Regions from separate parts of the Homo sapiens genome. Here all the other regions are linked to region 1. Evidence: promoter capture Hi-C in 16 types of primary human blood cells and fetal thymus (Javierre and others, 2016). All regions are on one chromosome and are shown on one strand. Each heading gives the region's core, a stretch centred on a gene start or on the middle of the fragment in contact. The rest is flanking DNA. Distances are from core to core; before and after follow the strand shown. Region 1 holds the start of HTR3A (5-hydroxytryptamine receptor 3A). Region 2 overlaps USP28 (ubiquitin specific peptidase 28). Region 3 overlaps ZBTB16 (zinc finger and BTB domain containing 16). Region 4 overlaps ZBTB16 (zinc finger and BTB domain containing 16). Region 5 overlaps ZBTB16 (zinc finger and BTB domain containing 16).

The links. Contacts are between HindIII fragments. The CHiCAGO score rates a contact against its expected background, and 5 or more counts as called.
Region 2: a fragment that was not itself captured here is called in contact with the fragment with the promoter of HTR3A in region 1 in 1 of 17 cell types (total B cells); the score reaches 5.8 in total B cells.
Region 3: a fragment that was not itself captured here is called in contact with the fragment with the promoter of HTR3A in region 1 in 2 of 17 cell types (neutrophils and naive B cells); the score reaches 5.3 in neutrophils.
Region 4: a fragment that was not itself captured here is called in contact with the fragment with the promoter of HTR3A in region 1 in 1 of 17 cell types (total B cells); the score reaches 5.9 in total B cells.
Region 5: a contact is called between a fragment that was not itself captured here and the fragment with the promoter of HTR3A in region 1, in 2 of 17 cell types (total B cells and naive B cells). The highest score is 9.6, in total B cells.

The regions. Positions count from the first base shown.
Region 1 is chr11:113,973,746-113,976,445 of GRCh38, forward strand. It overlaps HTR3A (5-hydroxytryptamine receptor 3A), which reads left to right and starts at 1,363. Exons shown (of 9, transcript NM_000869.6): 1 at 1,363-1,647. The coding sequence starts at 1,581. RefSeq lists enhancers at 926-1,587, 1,588-2,247. The HindIII fragment of the contact is 9,568 bases long and covers 1-2,700 here.
Region 2 is chr11:113,810,886-113,813,585 of GRCh38, forward strand. It overlaps USP28 (ubiquitin specific peptidase 28), which reads right to left. Exons shown (of 26, transcript NM_001346252.4): 16 at 1,391-1,619. Among named protein-coding and RNA genes, the nearest start is that of CLDN25, 32 kb to the left of the region's middle. The HindIII fragment of the contact is 2,460 bases long and covers 140-2,599 here.
Region 3 is chr11:114,215,025-114,217,724 of GRCh38, forward strand. All of the region lies in intron 4 of ZBTB16 (zinc finger and BTB domain containing 16), which reads left to right. Among named protein-coding and RNA genes, the nearest start is that of NNMT, 80 kb to the right of the region's middle. RefSeq lists an enhancer at 863-1,157. The HindIII fragment of the contact is 6,628 bases long and covers 1-2,700 here.
Region 4 is chr11:114,175,896-114,178,595 of GRCh38, forward strand. The region is part of intron 3 of ZBTB16 (zinc finger and BTB domain containing 16); the gene reads left to right. Among named protein-coding and RNA genes, the nearest start is that of ZBTB16, 120 kb to the left of the region's middle. The HindIII fragment of the contact is 5,598 bases long and covers 1-2,700 here.
Region 5 is chr11:114,195,705-114,198,404 of GRCh38, forward strand. The region is part of intron 4 of ZBTB16 (zinc finger and BTB domain containing 16); the gene reads left to right. Among named protein-coding and RNA genes, the nearest start is that of NNMT, 99 kb to the right of the region's middle. The HindIII fragment of the contact is 1,143 bases long and covers 737-1,879 here.

The sequences.
Region 1 (2,700 bases), core at 113-2,612:
CAGGAATAAGAACTGAAAGGATGCAGCCCTGACCAAGGTAGTTTCTTTCTTTTTTTCTTTCTTTTTAACTTACCTACAATTCAGAAAATTCCTCCTTACTGCAGGGTTCCTAGCCTATTCCACACTTAGAGTCAAGTGGAAAATAAATTAAAAAGGAAGAAAATGTTTTGTTGTTGATACTTAACTTGATTGGTACGGGGACATCTACCCAAATGGTGAGCTAGGGTAGGACTCCTTCAAATAAAAATGCACAGTAATTCTTCTTGCAGGCAACTTTAGGGGTACACAGCTGAGGCCTGAGGGATAGATACTTGTCTATTTAACTTGCAATGAAGAAAGAAACACTTCTTTCAAGAAAGACGCTTCCATTTAAGAGGAAGGTATTGAAAATGCTTCCGAGGCCAGGTGTGATTGCTCATGCCTCTAGTCCCTTTGGGGGACTACCAAAAATACAAAAATTAGCCAGGCATGGCTCGCATTTGTAGTCCCAGCTCTTCAAGAGGCTGAGATGGGAGGATCAGCTGAGATGGGGGAGGTTGGGGCTGCAGTGAGCAGTGATTGCGCCACTGCACTCTAGCCTGGGTGACAGAGCGAGACTCTGTCTCAAAAAAAAAAAAAAAAAGAAAGAAAGAAAAGAAAAGAAATGCTTACGAAATGATATCAAGCAAAAAAAGAGGGCACAAAATTATATGTATGTGATATTTACTTCATTGTATACACATTACTGAAGAAAATTATGGAAGAATATATACCAAAACGTTAAGAGTGGCTGTCTCTGAGTCATAAGTTTACAGATGATTTTAATTTTTCTTCATATTTTTCTACAAAGTGCATGTATTATTATTATTTTTACTATATGTATTTATTATGTATGGCAAGAATGCATGAAATAAATATGTATAGTAAAAGTTTATTTTTATTATATATTTTATTATTTTTAATATATATTTTACTATTTAAGTATAACTAATTAGATGAGGACAAAAGGGCAGACCTGTGGTGACTCCAGTTACCCTTCCCGTAACTACAGAGGTGCCCAGTCACCTGCTTGGTTATGTCACCCTGGGGAGTAAAAGAATGGTCTTCCTGCTCCTGCCTGACTCACCCTATCCTGCCCCAGCCCAGTGCCACAGAAACATACTTGCCAAGGGACATCAATGAAAGCAGCAGCGTGGTGCACCTCCCAGGGGTCAGGCTGCACCCTTGTCTCATGGGCTTCTGCAGCCCCTGTCCCCACCTAAGTTACTCCTTGGGGAAACATGGCCAAGCCCCCTGGCTGAATGGGTGGACTGAGCTCCCACAGCATGACATCAGCTAGGGCGGGCTCCCCTCTCAGCTGTCCCCTCCCCTTTCCTCCCGCCTGAAACATGATCCAGCTGAAGGACTGATTGCAGGAAAACTTGGCAGCTCCCCAACCTTGGTGGCCCAGGGAGTGTGAGGCTGCAGCCTCAGAAGGTGTGAGCAGTGGCCACGAGAGGCAGGCTGGCTGGGACATGAGGTTGGCAGAGGGCAGGCAAGCTGGCCCTTGGTGGGCCTCGTCCTGAGCACTCGGAGGCACTCCTATGCTTGGAAAGCTCGCTATGCTGCTGTGGGTCCAGCAGGCGCTGCTCGCCTTGCTCCTCCCCACACTCCTGGCACAGGGAGAAGGTAAGCAGACTTCGGGAAGCAGCAGGACTTGGCTGACCATCTGCTGAGGTGGGGCAGGGGATGCTTCAGTCCTCCGAGGGCTGTGGAGAGGAGGGTGGGGAACAGTGCAGCTGCAGGAAGGTCAGCTATCTTACCACCTATGAGCATGACAGCATTTGAGGCATCATGGTTAAGCTAGAGAGAGTTAGGAATGTTGAGTCCTGGGGTGGGGCAAGAGCGGAGCTTGCAAAGAAGGGAGCAGAGAAGTAGCCTGGCGTATCAGAAATAAAAAGACAGGCACCAGGAGGGGGCTCCTCTCCTTTTTGTCCTTTCCCTAAACTATTTGAATGAAAGCTGCAAGGGACCTTAGAACTCATTGGGTCCACCCTTGCCTGTTATAAATGGGAATGCTGTGGCCCAGAGAGTGGGGAGCGGATAATTCATTCAAGGTCACACAGCTTGTTAGCAGCAGAGTGGGGACCAGAACTAGTCTAGTCCTCTTTCCTCAGCTTCACTGGTTTTGTTGCATGAGTTCGTTCTCTGGGCCTGCGGTTCCCCAAGTTCCTTTCCAGGACTAAACTCCAGTAACGCCCAATTTCTCTCCACATTCGCTACACCCATCTTCTCCTGACTCCCTTGAATGTAGGGTGTTTTAGCCACAAAGGGACCGGCTTCCTTTTGCTGCAGACCATGTTCATTCCCCTCTAGGAGGTTTCTCTCCCTACAGAGCTGGGGTGGAGCATACTGGGGCACAATTAGAGGAAGCCATCCAGGGGTTGGACAGACGTGAAGAGCTCTGGGTAAGATGTCCTTCCTCCCGGGAGCGGTCGTTTGGGAGTGCTCCGTGGGTTAAGCAAACGCAAGCTGTAAGTGATGACTGTGGTCGAGGGCTTCCTTGACTGAGAAGAAACTCTGTCCCTCCTAGCAATGGTCCTTTGCCCCGGGCCTGCTGGGATGAGTTCAGTGCTCTCCAAGCTGGTCAGGATCCCAGTCAATAGGACCCAGGCTCTTGCTGGTGTAGTAAAGACGCACACGGGTCTGCGTTTGAATCTCAGTTCCTCCACTTGCAGAGCA
Region 2 (2,700 bases), core at 120-2,619, 160 kb before region 1:
GTTGGTCTTCAACTCCTGGCCTCAAGTGATCCGCCCGCCTTGGCCTCCCAAAGTGCTGGGATTACAGGCGTGAACCACCATGCCGGGGCGATGTTTCCTTACTTACGCCACACAGTAAAGTTTGAATACTACAGGCAAAAGCTTTCTACTATCTTACTTATAAAATGTTCATCATAAGACCTCTCATAGAGGATGTGAAAGAAAGAGAGAATAATGTAAATTGAAAACACCACAGAATTTGGAGAATTGTATTTGAATCTTGGGACTGCCATTTATTGACTATGTGATTACTCAACTTTAGAACCCTTTGGAATCTGTTATCCAGCTGGAAAATGAAGATGACAACATTTTCAAACTCTTTCCCTCCTTTTCACAGCTGTAAGTTCTTAGAGAAATAAAAGTTTGAAAGCATGCTTTAAGAAGTAAAGTACCAATATAAATGATAATTATTATTGCTCTCTGTATGAGTAGTAGTATTACAACAACTGTGAAACTATTCAGGCAAATACACCTGTAAAATTTAGTTATTCTGGGCCCCACAACTGTAATCCCAGCACTTTGAGAGGCCGAAGCAGGCAGATCACCTGAGGTGAGGAGTTCAAAAACACCCTGGCCAAGATGGTGAAACACCGTTTCTACTAAAAATACAAAAATCAGCTGGGCATGGTGGTGGGCACCTGTAATTCCAGCTGCTTGCGAGAGTGAGGCAGGAGAATCACTTCAACCTGGCAGGCGGAGGTTGCAGTGAGCTGAGATTGCGCCACTGCACTCCAGCCTGGGCGACAAAGCAAGACTATGTCTCAAAAAAAAAAGAAAGAAAAAATTTAGTTATTCTCCAAAGGGTGCAAAAATATATGTACTATCAGCACCATAAGATGGGGCAAGAAAAAAAAAAGATGTCACTAAAAACAACAACAACTAGAGAATTAGTCTATCTACGAGTAAATTTTAAAAATACGTATATTCCACACAATGAATTACTATATAGTTGTTAAACAGTTAAGATTCTTTTACTAAAAATATAGAGATTGCTAAATACTCGATTAATGAAAAAGGTTCAGAGTTGAATGGAAAAATAATCTACTTGGGGAAAAGGGGGAGGGGAAGATACAGATAAATAGAATCTAGCATATGTATACAATGTGTCTTGAAGACTACATAAGAAACCTAACATTGTGTACTTGTTGGGAGTGGGACCCATGGTCAAGGAAGAAAGTAGTAAAGCAAACTTGTTTTTCCTTTTCATTTCCTTTTATACTGTCTATATTTTTTAAATCTATTATTATATAATAGTAAGTTGTAAATTTTTTAAAAAGCAGTACAAGACTGTTCTTCTCCCTGAGCAGTACAGATTTTCCCCAATCTATAGATTCTGCCAAGATACTTTTACCTGCATTGAAGTAGGGTAGTTTGTCATTAATGTACATCAGACAGTAAGCACTAACATTTCTCAGGCCTCCATAGGAATCTCTTTCAACTTCTTCCCAGGAAGATTCAGTAACAGAGATGTCATTGTACTTGAGCCAGCTCTGTCGGGGTTGATTATAGATATAGGCCCAATAGTGTCCAGCATTTGCTTGTCCTTCATGAACAAGAACTGCATGCAAGCGATAAGGCACCTGTAAGTCAGAATGTACATTCCCCAGTCAGGTGAAGCAAAGTAATCTGATAAAGTTTAGGTTATTAAGAAATTACTGTTTATGATGTGATTAATGTGGGGTTCATATTAAAACATCTTGTTGATTCAAGATGAAGTCCACAAAAACACAGCCTTGGAATTGATCAATTATGTCTCAGTTCCAAAACCTTGAAAACCAGATCGCTGAACTACATGACCTCTCTGAAGACTCTTTCAACTCTAAACTCCTCAGATCTAAAACCAAACATAACCTAAACATATGCATCCTTCTAATTCAAAACTCTGTTTATCTAAAAATAGAATCACCTTGACCACTCATGCTGAAAATGCTTAGCATATTTGGGACCTACAAAGGTTAGCAGCTATTTTGTTCCATGCCTATTTTATTTGGCAACAAAATTTAAGTTAACATATTTAATTCAGCCACATGCTTCTTAGAGTTAAGTGACCACTTATCTATCTGGAGTGAAGACCCTTTTAATGACATACTTGTTTGTTACAACATTTGAAAAGCACATTTGTGTATTTTCAATATAGAGAAAATAGAGCAATGCTTAAATGCTAACTAAATACTAGTAAAAGAGATGAAAGTCAGTCACAGAATCAAATTAAATTTACACTTACTTTGACCTATTTTAATTACTGGTGAAGATTTTTGAATTAACACAAAAGAAAAAATGGGGAAGCCTGCGTTTTACATGGTGCATTCCTGTTAAGCAATGGGACTGTGCCTCAATGCCATTCTAGAAACAGGGCTCCCCTCCTCCAAGCCATTCTGCCCATTCCAGTCATTCATACAGAAGCCACTGAAAGTCCATGCCCCTAACCAGAATAGGTTCAGAGACACTCCTGGAGGCTCTTTACCCCTCCATTCCCAGAATTTATTCTAACAAACACTTCTGTGGATAGTTAAGAATTTCTGTCCTAACTCTCTTTTGGAATTTATTATTACAGAAATAAAGCTTGAACGCATGTTGTTAAATTAAAGATCTTGAAGAATCATGGAACTTTGGGAAAGAAAGGATAACTGTTCTCTAGTTCAGTTTTTCCCACTGCACTAC
Region 3 (2,700 bases), core at 68-2,567, 240 kb after region 1:
TTTAATATAAAGATTTCTGGATCTATGAGGTTAACTGTGTCCAGTTAATTGAATTTATAATTCAGCACCAAAACGCTGAAAAGAATTGTCTTTTATGTCCCTTAATGAGTGCTATAAAAACAAGTGGTGAATCTAATTTTACGAATGTTCCTTTATGACTTACCTGATAACTAGTAGTTGTTCAACACAAAGGACACATAACTCAGTCTGGACCTACACTGGCTGCCTGCCGTAAAATAACTTGTTTTAGAAGTTGGCCTTCTTGCTTCTCTTGAGTGGCCCAGGGATTCACTTGTTCCCTTCTCTGCTCCCTCTTCTCATTGAGGATCAGGCTCGGGTTCTTCATTCTGGAGGATTGAGATGGGTTACCTTCCCTGCCAGTCCAGGATGACCAAGACCTCACATCTCATTGGCTCTTTCCAAAAAGGGGAAGGGAAAGATATGGCAGCTCATTCAGATGTCTCTCTGGTGCAGCATATTGCTTCTACCTAGAAGTTGCCTGGTGTGCTAGCAAGAAAAGAGAAATTAAGAGAAAGACTCCTTTTGTCTTTACCCTACAACGAGAGGTAAAGAGCTTTACAGCCGCAGCAGCCGCATTAGGTTAGACATTGGTGAGAACTTCCTGAGTTGCAAAGATGTTCCTAAGAGAGACTGATAACTGTCCATCTCTGGAGCTGCTTCAGTTGTGAGTGGGCACATATATAGATGCCCTTATCTTTTTATAGCTTTTGTCTTTTTTTATGTTTTGAAAGTTTAATTTGAATTATTTTGTGATTACAGATCTTACAGGTAGATGTTGGGTACAAAATTCAGGCATTCTCTGATGGCTATTTGAGAAAGGTTGGCTGTTCCCATCTGCAATAGTCAGGGGCAGGAGCCTGGACTCACAGGCCAGTACAGCACTCAGGGAGACAGCCTAGAAATGGAAGGGCTTTTGGAGGAGGGAAGCTCTTGAACAGAGCAGACAGGGTAGGGGTGTGGGAGCGTTGATGAAGGAAGGCCAAGATAAGGCTGTGGTTTCCATTTGTTACCACCTCTCCCGCTTATCTTGAGTGAGAACAGGCCCTACAGCTCTGAGCGAACCTTTCCATGGGGCTGTTGAGCTGTGAAGAGGACATATACGAGCTCTCCTATCCTCTCTTCCCAGTGCACCCTTTCCCTTGCACACACAGGCACCTGTAAAGGCTGCAGCTTTGGTCTATTGGATGGGTGGGGACAAATGCAGAAGTGTCCCTGTTCTGGGTGCTGATTACTTCCTAGCAGAGCTGGGGGGTGGACTGGCACATTTGTCCTTCATGATCTGAGTCTTACCTCTGCTGGCCTTGTGCTCAGACTGGCTGGTGGGCCATCTTCTGCCTTGTCCCACCCTTACTAGGCTGATAAATTGCTGTTCCAGTCAACAGGGCTCTGACCCAGCCCTTATCTTTGGTCAGAAGGAGGCTGGGTGACAAGGACAGGGGGAGGGGCTGCTGCACAAGCCCAGCCTTTGGACACTGGTAACCTTTTGTGGGGGAATGTACACCCAGCTGCTTTGGGGCCCAGAGGAACATTCTGGCAAGACAGTGCTATCAGCCTAAACTCATCACACCGGAGGCAGCCTGCAGCATATACACATTTCTCTTGACTTACAGGAGACTGGAGATGGAGGGAAATAAGAAGTCACCTCCCCTTACCCCCTATTCTCACTGAGTTGGCATGACACTAAAAGATCCCCTATTCCCTATCATTTTCAGAAGAACCAAGACGGCTTGCCACTCATTCATTCAACATTTATTGCATATCTACTATGTGCTTAAATGCTGGGAATAGAAAGATGACTAGACCCAGTCTCTTGATTCAAGGAATTCAGAGTTGAGAGGAAGACAGACACATAAACAGGCAATTATAATGCAGAATGCTGAGTGCAGCGATAGAGATATTTATTATACACAGGATACTGTGGTAGCCCAGAGGAAGGGTGCTCAGCAGATACCCAGGGGACAGATAAGGCTTCTAGAAAGGAAGACACCACAAGGTTTTCAAGAAGTAGAAAGTAGCCAGGATGAAGGGAGAGAAGGACAGAAGAAATGGAACTGTATGTGTTTAGAAACAGTGACACTGTGGCCTGAGTAGCTCAGCTGAGATAGAACGTGGTGGATACAGTTGGAGGCATAGGCAAGCCCAGGCCACAGAAACTTGTTAGGCTGTGTTTAGGAGCCTAGATTTTATCCACAGATGACAAGGAGTTCTTGGAAGCCTTTAAAAAGGAAGTTATGAGATCAGATACATTTTGGATAGGTCGCACTGGTGGTTCTGTGCAGGTGAGATCAGAGGGAGGTAAGCTGTGTTTAGGAGACTTTTGTGGCTATCCTGATGAGGGATGCTTACATGATAGAAAATGAGCTGGATTGGGGTATCTCAATCCTAATGTCAGGCAAGAGGACCTAGAGGCCTTCGGGGTGACGTCCAGGCATCTAGCTCGAGTGACCAAGAGGATGTTAGTGCTGACAGCTGAGATGGAGATCCAGGCCAAGCAGGTTTGAGAGGCGAAGATGTGGGTTTCAGGTTTGGATATTCAGGTTGAATATAAGATGTCTGCGGAACATCTAGGGAGCAGCTAGGTATATGGATTTTGTGCCCAGAAGAGAAGTCCAGGCTGGAGGCCTCCTGGCTTCCTGGTGGTCACTGAGACCGTGAGAGTAGAGTTCACCTGGACAGATG
Region 4 (2,700 bases), core at 23-2,522, 200 kb after region 1:
CCCGGCCACCACCCTTGGAGGGGTCTTAGTCTTCTTTTTTCCATTGCCCAGCCAGTATTGTGAATCCTACTCAGGGGAGAGGGGTGTGTGTGTGTGTGTGTGTGTGCGTGCGTGTGTGTGTGTGTGTGTATGTGTGAAATCCTCCATGCCATATTTAGGGTGGGGGCCTGTGACGGAGCATTCTGAAGTTGCTTCAGAAGAAAGGAGCAGAATAGATGAGGATGAGAGGAGACCGAAGGCTCAGATCACAGGCTGAGCTTTGGGACTGCTGGGGGCCAACAGAAACTTCTCTTTTCATTCTGAACTTCTCTCCTGAGAATCCCCAAGGGGAGACCTGGGAGGAGGGTGATTGTTGGTGTTTAGGAGTTGCGGAGATGTCCCATAAAATCATGGCAGAAACCCTTACTCTTATATCCCTGGCTTTATTATCCAGCCTCTCACAAATGCCAAGGTTGCAAAGCTATCTATCTCTCTTAAACAAAACAAAGTTATGAACACTTGAAAGCCCAGGTATTCCCTGGAACTCGGGTCAGTCTTTGGCACAGCCGCACTGACCCAGCCTGACTCTGGCTAATGATTCTCCCAATGTCTGGACTCTCTGTTCCATTCTACCTGCCTGATAGAGCAGAATATTCACCTTGAGAAGGATTCTGCTGGCTGAACCGGGGAACCCAGCCCTCGCTTGGTCTCAACAGCACCTTCCAAACACCAAGGGTTGTATGCATTTGAGCTCTCGTGTACGGCCACGTTTAACTTTCTTTGCCATGAGCGCCCAGCTTCTCATGAACACCTGTTCATCCTTTCTCCCTTAGAGATGTCCCAGTTTAAAACTTGTCATTTCAAGATGGAGAGATAAAGGGATTCACCAAGGGTTACACAGCTCAGGCAGTGACAGTCAGGACCGCAAGTCAGTTTCTTTTGGTACTTTGGAAAATCTTGGGTGCGCTGGCCAGCAGAACCCTCCTTGAGCCAGTTATCTACCCTGTCTTACCTAAGGGTGGTCCTGTCTCCCATTCCAGATAGCATAATATCATGTATACGAGAGCCTTAGAGAACATAGTGTCTCATTTATGCAGGCCATTTACTTATTGCGATTGGGCTTCTCCCAGAGCTGTGGGACTGGAAATACTATGGGCTGCATACCCTGTAGGCTGTGGCCAGGAGCTGTCCTCCTGGAGCTCATCAGCTTGATGAAGTGAAATTATTCTATAATCATGATAATGACTGTGACTTGAGCACCTGCTATGTGCCAGGTACTTCATATAGTTTCTTGTTTAAGCTATCATATGAGGATGAATAGCTACATTTTCAGGAGGGAAGTGAGGCTGCGAAGTTGATGCTGGTACCGTACCGGTAGAACCTTAAAGCCGTCTCTGGATTTGAGCTGTTGCTGTTGCCAGGCTGGAGTGCAGTGGTGCGATCTCGGCTCACCACAACCTCTGCCTCCGGGGTTCTAGCGATTCTCCTGCCCCAGGCTCCCGAGTAGCTGGGATTACAGGCATGTGCCACCATGCCCGGCTAATTTTGTATTTTTAGTAGAGATGGGGCTTCTTCATGTTGGTCAGGCTGGTCTCCAACTCCAGACCTCAGGTGATCCGCCCGCCTCGGCCTGCCAAAGTGCTGGGTAATTACAGGCATGAGCCACCGCACCCGGCCCGGGACTTCATTTTGAGGGGGCCTGACCGTTAACCTCCGAGAGATCTCTCAGTTGGCAAAGCATGTCTGGAAGGAAGTCTGGTTCATCACAGCAGGGACTGACATTCCTGTAGTAAGAGAGATTTTGTGCCCTTGTGCTGACTACCACAATACCATGATTGCTCAGTCATAGAAGTTGCCAGGAGAAGAAAGAGATTAGAAGCAATGGTAAGGTGAACCCCTGAGTCACTACTCTTAGACTTCAGGAATATTTGTAATTTTTTTTGGAGACAGAGTATCACTCCGTCACCCAGGCTGGGGTTACAGGCACAAGCTATTGCACCTGGCCTGTATTTTTAAAAAATCTGCAACAAATTTACTATCCTACTTGCATTTTATTTAAAATAATTCACTCATGTATTTTTAAAAACATAAATCATCTCAAACTGGTTTGCATTCCCTGGTTCCCTTCTGGGTAGGCAGTAGGAGGGTAATAATACCATTAAACATTGGCCATGAGTGATGATGGGAGCAGACGGTAGGGGTGTCATTTCCTTGATCTCCTCCTGGGGAAGAATGATCTGACCCCATCTTTACTGGTGTGTTTTGGCTGGAGAGGTAAGAATATTTTAAATTGCGTGATATATCTCTTGCATGCATTTGATGTTTGTGTGTGTCTTATACCTTGCTATTATTTTATCTCCTGATGACAATGATGATGTTGGTCTTAATGACAACTAGCATTTATTGGGCTATTATTGTATGCCAGACAGGGTATTAAACACTTTACATATATTATTTAAATTAATCATCCCTCAACCAACCCTGTGGCATAAACACTCTGAGCCCAGTTTTCTAGGTAAGAAACAGGCCCAGAAGAGATAATTCACTTCTTCAGGGTGGTAGCTAGACATGGTAGAACTGGGACTTGAACCAGAGTTTGTTTGATTCCAGAGAGCGTGCTCTTCACTACCTTACTGTGCAGCTTAATATTGAGTGCATGTGTGTGTTCTGGCTGTGGACAGTGTTTCTAAGCCTGTTGGATTACCCGCTGGTGCTAAAAGG
Region 5 (2,700 bases), core at 58-2,557, 220 kb after region 1:
TCTCAATATAGGCCTCGCATGGAGTAAGTGCTCAGGAAATGGAGGTGCCAGTTTCTCTCATCGCATCATCCTGGTCTTCCTCAGAGGCTTCTGAGAACATGGATTTCCCCCACTGGATAGGTTGACGGGGCCAAGTCAGTGAGGATGGTGTTGGAGGAATAGGAACAGTATACACCTGCTTTGCAAGGCCATGGTGAGGTCTTCCAGGATCCCTGACTATGTCCTCCGGCCAAGAGGACATTTGCAATGTGCCCACTGAGTTAACAGCCACTGGGGCCCTCTCAGTGCAGTTGAAAGAAGTGAGGGCAGATTGAAGCTCCACACTTTGAGCAATCTCAGGGAGCAGATTTGGTAGATCTTAAGGCCCTGAGGTCTGGAATGCCCAAAGCTTCCCAAAGGAACCATTCCCTGTTGGTGTCTAAACAGGTGATGTGTAAACCCAGGCCAGACAGGCCGCAAAACTGGAATCGAGACTAAGCAGGTGTACCAGCCTCCAGGAGCACCAGGCCTGTGCCCTTCCACGTCTTAAGAGGAGGCTTCAGTGACTGGTGCCCTCAAAGGCTCAGGAATTTTGGGTTCCTGGTAGGGTCCTGAACCATGTCTGCTATCACCAGGAACCTGGGTATTCCCTATCTCTTGACTTCTTCAAATAGAACCTTCCACCTCATCCTACCTTTTCGCCAGTAAGAAAAAAGAGGCAAGGTCATTCCTAGGTTTAGAAGTTCTGAGGCTGGGAAGCTTAAGGGCACCCTCTGCAGGCCCAGGGTACTAGGTTGAACTAGACCCTAGACTTACCCTGGAGGAATTCAGCTCTCTCCTCCAGCCCTCAACCTGCCCTGCAAGGTCTGCCAGGTTAGTGACTCAAGTTTGCTGTGAGAGTAGCCTGTGTAGCTGGCTTATCCTGTAGTTCCTTCATTTCCTCATTCTCTGAGTTTTTAAGTACCTACTGTATGCTAGGTGCTTTGTGGACTTAATACATAATAGTGAACAGAAATTGGGCCCTGCCTTCCTGAAGGTTACGGTGTTATGAAGGAAATGAGCATGTAGGTTGAACTTGCCTTAGGTACAGATAATTCAATAGCTGTACTCTTTTGGATACTTTTGAGTTATTATTTTTATTAAGTCTTCACTATAGTCCAAAAATATAGACCTTTTTTCCTCCCTAATCTTTGCCAGAGAAAACTGAGTCCCAGAAAGGTTAAGGAAGACCAATCTGGGGCAGGACTTGAATGTGTGCCTTGGGCTTCTGTACCCCAGAGCCCACATTTTAGCATTGTCTTCCCTCCCTGTGGGGGCCTGGGCATCAGCTCTCATGTGCGGATCAATGGATCAAAGCCCCTATTTGAAAAAGGGGGTCAGTTAAGAACACACAATCCAAACTAGAATTAGGGCCCACGAGTTCAGCCCAAGGTTCTCTCCACTGTGACTACAAAATAAGTACTTTCTTTTACTGGCCTAGAAAAGGTTGCTTAGTTTCCACATTACTGCGTCACAGGGGAAGCCACTCAACCAGATGCAAATGTTGAGATGCTGGTTCTCATCCACTGTGTTGTCGGCTGCAAGAGTCTTGCAGTCCAGAAACGGCATACCTCTGGCGGCTGAGGGTCCATGCTGTGGACTCTGCCCTTCCCTTCTAGCAGGGAGTGGGCATTGGAGGGAACCCCACCCAAAGGGTCCTCTTCGTTTCAGTGTGAAGGAGTCTAGGAGGCATATACTCTGTCTTCCCCCCACTCTCTGTTTCTCTCTCTTTGTCTCTCTCTCTCTCTTTGCACTGTGTGGCCTCCCCCTTTGGAGGTGCAGAACTGTCTCTCCAACCTTGGTGTTGGCTGCCTGCTTGCACTGGCCCCTCTCTCCTGATATGTTAATAATATTTGGAGGAAGCTTCAGAGACAGTCCCTGGCTCTGAACTTCAGAGTAGAAAATGAAGTCCTTGTTTGGAGAATTTTCTGTAGTGGGTGATCATGGTGGGGGCAGGGGGTGGGGTGGGAGTAGCAGGCAAGACAGAGGATTTATTTTATTTTAATTATTATTTTTGAGACAGAGTCTCGCTCTGTCGCCCAGGCTGGAGTGCAGAAGGCAGAGGATTTAAAAGGGTGAGCAGCAACGCTCCTTCCCTCAGGATAGCTGCTGGCCTTGCCCCCTCCTGCCCTGAGCTTGGCACGAGGGACAGTGCTGGGCACCAAGGAGTCCTGTAATGATAGGAAAACTGGCAACTGTTCTAGTTCCTGCTCTCAAGAACAGCCTCCCAGTGGCTGGTCCCAGAGGAGCTGGGAGGGGGCCAGATGATGACAAATAACTTAATCTACCTAAACTTTACATGAAAAAAAAAAAAAATCCAAACGAACCTCAAACCTCTGTCCAAGGTGGAGGGTATCGGGGAGGACAGGACAGTGAGTCATCAGAGGGACAGGCAGACTCCATGTGGTTTGCTGTGACCTCCCCATTGAAAACATAATAGCATTTGACTTTTATAAATATCAGAGGTGATTTGTATAGCATTTCACATTCTGTGCCAAGGAATTTAACATGAGAAAGCTCAGGCTGAAGAACGGCCGCGGAACGTCATAGGCACTTTGGGAGGAGGGTCATGTGCTGCTGTTTGTACAGTCAGTGCCCCAGCATAGATTTACTCTTGACCTAATTTCATGCTGTTACTATAAAGGCATGTTTGATGCCTAATATAGAGTTTTATTTTCCAAG